2 separate regions of the Homo sapiens genome follow, and region 2 is linked to region 1. Evidence: promoter capture Hi-C in human tissues and cell types (Jung and others, 2019). All regions are on one chromosome and are shown on one strand. The core of a region is centred on a gene start or on the middle of the fragment in contact, and the rest is flanking DNA. Distances in the headings are between cores, read along the strand shown.

Region 1 (2,534 bases), core at 22-2,521:
GGATTGGGAGAGACTTTTATGCTGAATTTCTAAACTCCCAGCTGAATCACGACTAGAACAAGGATAGCACCTCCTGAAGAGCAAAGTTTAGATCTCGTGTATCAACTGAATGATTCTTGAATCCTTTCTTCCCTTGCATACGAGCTAAGTAGGATGTCTTTGCAGCAGGAAATAAAGGGGAGAGGGTACAGAAACCCGGGTCTGGGAAATGGAGAGACTGGGCCACATTCATGGAGCCAGGAGGGGGAAATCAATGAGCATCATCTGACTTTGCAAAGGCTTTGATCCTTGTCTCCTTCCCCACTTCCGAGACTTTCCCATTCTTTCCTGGAGGTATGGCAGGTTATACATGGATCCATTCACCTTTGCGGGAGTCTTTGGCCACTGAACATAGTTAAAGAGCCTTTATTCCAATGTCTTGAAAATAGATGAAAATATTAAACAGAAGTGGAGCTGTTTGGCTCTTTTTGCAAGCCAGCAACGAGGATTTGGGCTTCCTTAAGTTATATGTGTTTAAGACAGTAATTTTTAAAAGTCATTATAAGGACTTTGGGCTGCAGGAACTCTCCCTGCCATTCACCGGCTTAATGGACATTGTGCCTTCTTGGGCATTCCTGTCCAGCCCGCGTCCGGGAGATACTCATCTCCTGCAAAGGAAGTTGCCTCTTTCCCCAAAGAGCAAATTTTCAAAACATGTAAGTTACAACTTGCTTCCCAACACTCCACTAAAAAAAAAAAAAATGCTGTTTCCCTTCCTTCTTGCCTCCATCCTACATCCCCCCGCTCCCCACTCCCTGCACCTTGACTCCCTATTTCAGTATCAGTGTTTAATTCTACACTCGCCTTTGGTGCAGCCCACGGGGGCGGGGTAGTGGGAAGCAAGGAAAGATGGTCGCCCACCTCATTCCCAAAACATGTGCACTTTTGAGGCTTCTGATTGGAACACATTGTCCCCAGACATCACAGAGCCTTGTGCTGTGGCTTCTGCGATGTCTTTGGAATTTACTAAAAACAGATAGACTAAGACCCCTCCCCACTCCACAACAAGCAAAAACACACACAAGCGCGCGGGCGCGCACACACACAAACACACACACCCCCTCAGTACCCCCCACCCCCTTTTTAAGCAATGCTTTGTTGTGCTAAAACTAGTTGGACGAGTTAGGGTGTTACTGTTGCTCCCGAGGCCCTGGCCAATAGAACCAGATCCACCCCGCTGTGCGTAAGCGCGCAATTAAGGATTTAACCAAGGCTGTGCTGCGCCTCAGCCAGCAGTCAGCCGGCCGGAGACAGAGACTTCACGACTCCCAGTCTCCTCCTCGCCGCGGCCGCCGCCTCCTCCTTCTCTCCTCCTCCTCTTCCTCCTCCTCCCTCGCTCCCACAGCCATGTCTGCTTAGACCAGAGCAGCCCCACAGCCAACTAGGGCAGCTGCCGCCGCCACAACAGCAAGGACAGCCGCTGCCGCCGCCCGTGAGCGATGACAGGAGTGTTTGACAGAAGGGTCCCCAGCATCCGATCCGGCGACTTCCAAGCTCCGTTCCAGACGTCCGCAGCTATGCACCATCCGTCTCAGGAATCGCCAACTTTGCCCGAGTCTTCAGCTACCGATTCTGACTACTACAGCCCTACGGGGGGAGCCCCGCACGGCTACTGCTCTCCTACCTCGGCTTCCTATGGCAAAGCTCTCAACCCCTACCAGTATCAGTATCACGGCGTGAACGGCTCCGCCGGGAGCTACCCAGCCAAAGCTTATGCCGACTATAGCTACGCTAGCTCCTACCACCAGTACGGCGGCGCCTACAACCGCGTCCCAAGCGCCACCAACCAGCCAGGTACATGGACAGGGGGAAGGCTGGGCAGATACAGGGCGACTAGGACGCTGGGGGCGCGAGATGGGGTGGTAGATTGGGGGTCACAGCGGTTCACGGCAGTGGGGGCGCACGCGGCAGAAGGGAGTAGGACTCAGACCCTCCAACAAAGAGAGTTTCTCGGGCCAGCATTTTAGGGATTTTTAGTAGGAGAGCCCTGTGGAGGTTCGAACTAGCGTCTCTCCCCTCCGGCACCTTCCAAGGCCCTTCAGTCGCTGAATTCCCAGCTTGCCCGGCCAGGAAGCCGGCTAGGCTGGAAAGGGGATAGGGGTGGAGAGAAGAAAGAATCAAGCAGCTCCTGGCGTTTGCGTAACAAAGAGAAGGTTACTTGGGAATTTTGGTAAGCGTGCTGGGTTGGTGCGAGTGGGAATAGAAGGCTGCCTCAAAAACTCAGTCAGGATTAGTTTGAGAGCCGCCACAAGCTAGCACGGTGCGGGTGCCCTGAGCACGCTGGGTGGGGGTGGGGGGGTTAAGGAGTTGTAGCCAGCCAGAGAAGAGCGCGCCGAGAGTTTTGCGGTTTATCCAGGCATTTCCAAAAACAAAAAGCCATTTAAAGGTGGAGGAGGGTTGCTGAGGGGTCACGTTGTAGGATAGATTTTTTTTTCTGTCTCCATAGGCGCCCACAATTTGTCTTTCCGTCCTCCTTTTTCGTCCGCTTTGAAACT
Region 2 (2,534 bases), core at 14-2,513, 250 kb after region 1:
ACACACATTGGAACAGTGAATGGGAACACTGAAAGTCTCCGTGAAAACTAAACTAATTTGGAACCTATCATAACTTGTTTTCAGCTTTAGAACCACTAAATCATTATGAAAACACCTAAGTTACTCTTTTTGAAATCGTATAATGGTAACATGGACTTTCTGTTGTGTTTGTTTCTAATCTAGATCCTATCCCCTTGGGGGCCCTTTATATATGAAGTTGAATTGCTTGTGGTTTAATTTAGAATCTATGACATTCATTGTTTTCATTCACTGTGGAAATAAAGATGACCATAAGGAAAAATATCATTCTTCTGTAATCTTAGCACTCAGAGATATCCCCAGCTAATATTTTGATGTATAGAATTTTATTCTTTGTTCCCTGTTTGTGTGTGTCTAGCATATGTGTAACAAAATGATAAATACACAATGTATCTACCTTTAACAAGATAGCAGAAACATCCTTTCTTGTCATAATGTTCAACTCTCTCTTTTGAATGGTTATATATTTCAATAATTTTCATAGGATCCAAAACTGAGATAGGTCCAGAGCAGCCATATTTATGATATTGATGGACATCTAGCAGAGAAGAGGATACTACAATGGCTTCAGAGATTAGTTCAGTTTGTGCTTGCATTTTGATTGAGAATGTATCTTGACTCTTCAGCATTCTTTGAATGACACCTACACCATCTTAAACTTCATGTTCATTCACTGTGATTACAAGCCGCTGGGCACTAGAAATTAGTAAGACTGGTGTTTCTGGGAAAATGGTTCCTTCCACTCTGAGGATGCTTTTGCTATATCCTCTGATGAGGGTATTTCTGTATTCTTTGCCACTTTGCTGCTGACACAAGTTAGACACGACCTTCATTATGACTCAAAGCATCCACACGATCCCAGGCATCCATTCCATTGTGACATGACAGGAGCCTAGTTATTGAAATGAACATCTTCATGCTTCTTAGTGGCAAAGATCTGGAAAGAGGCAGTAATAAAGCCGCTGACAGTACATGCAAAACATATTGAACAGTCAACACCTTCTATTCACATGCAGAATCATTCCTGGGCGGACTTACTAGGGAAGAGACAAGAGGGAGTGCATGCAAGTTTAAATCTGCAACAAAAGATATGATGCAGAAGGAGATGAGCAAGATGGGATGGGAATAATTATTCAATCAGAGCGATGAAAAAATAACACAAAAGCCACAGGAATCTGTTGAGGTTGAAGGGGAAAAATGTGAAAGAACCAAATGAATTGCTTTACAAGAAAGGGCCACAATTCAGAGATTACAGGTGCTTTGGTGGTAACTGGGGATCCCCAATAAAGCAAATCCACTTAATCTTTGATTAGCACCTCTAACCACAATGAAGCCGTGGTGGATTTGATTTTAGGTTGGATATTCAACTTCAGGACAAGTTTTAGTTTTAAATTTTTACCCAATAAATATTTTTAATAATCATTTTTTAAAAACAGTATTAACCCTGCCCAAACCCATTCTCCACTGATGCTGGCACACAGGGCACCGAATGTAGTAGACATTTACTCATACTTTTTAGAAATGAAAAATAAACATGAGGCTAATCATAGCCACATATGTGTCCAATTTTCCAAGAAAAAAAAATTTCTACTGGTTTATAAATTGGGAGACAACCATTGTGATGACATTTCCCACGCATCAAACCCAGAGTAGCTGTGAACTAATTTATTGTCCATTGATGTTGCAATTTTCAGTATACAGAATCCAGTGGAAATCTGGAACTGATTCCCAGTTATACCCACCTTATGACTCCATGTGAAACTCTAAAACAAGCCCCACACTGAGGACTAGAAAGTCTTTCTTTGCCTCAGAATGAGATTATTTACTTACACTGAGGTTTCAATCTGTTTCCAGCAGAAAATAGCAGCCAATAGCACTTTTACAGGCATTTCTGAGAGACTGCATCCATAACTGAATGGAAAACTTGGGACCCTATTTTACCCCACAGTGAATGCCTGGTAGCAACTCTGGTTCCGTGGTCCCACCAGACTCAGCAACAAGGTCTCCCAACAGAAATGTACTCTGGTCTCATGCATAGTTTCAGGGGCTGCATCTTCCCCATGAATAAACCTACAGGGGGCTCTGTCTTTGGAACATCCAGCCGATTGGACTTTTTATTTGATTTCGGTTGAAATGGAATTTCACTATTTTCAGTTCTGCAAGGACAGGTGCCATAGTATAGGTTTTCCAGCCACAATGGTTGATGTGGGCTGACTTACAATGTACTCATTGTGGTTACACAAGATTTACGTGCCATGCCTTCCTTTTAACATCCCTTTCTCAGCCCATCCTGGGAAAAGAAATGCTTGCTAGATTCTAGATAAGTCACTCTTTACTGTTTCTGTCAGATGTCATTCACTGGGGGACAGTAATGTGCCTTATGGAGATAAGGTGAATTGCCTGTTTCATGGCACGAATCTGAAAGCATCCTTGAATTCAATTCAACAGTCTGACCGCCAGACAGCTCTTGAAATCATGTAAGAGGAAAAGAAAGA

What was found. The method cuts DNA at HindIII sites, captures the fragments that hold promoters and counts their contacts. A contact is called where the count stands out against the background at its distance.
Region 2: a fragment that was not itself captured here is called in contact with the fragment with the promoter of DLX5 in region 1 in 1 of the 25 tissues and cell types used here (H1 embryonic stem cells).

Annotation. Positions count from the first base shown.
Region 1 is chr7:97,023,568-97,026,101 of GRCh38, reverse strand. It overlaps DLX5 (distal-less homeobox 5), which reads left to right and starts at 1,271. Exons shown (of 3, transcript NM_005221.6): 1 at 1,271-1,833. The coding sequence starts at 1,479. RefSeq lists enhancers at 1-122, 1,049-1,765. The HindIII fragment of the contact is 6,057 bases long and covers 1-2,534 here.
Region 2 is chr7:96,770,843-96,773,376 of GRCh38, reverse strand. No RefSeq gene overlaps it. Among named protein-coding and RNA genes, the nearest start is that of SEM1, 62 kb to the right of the region's middle. The HindIII fragment of the contact is 5,784 bases long and covers 1-2,534 here.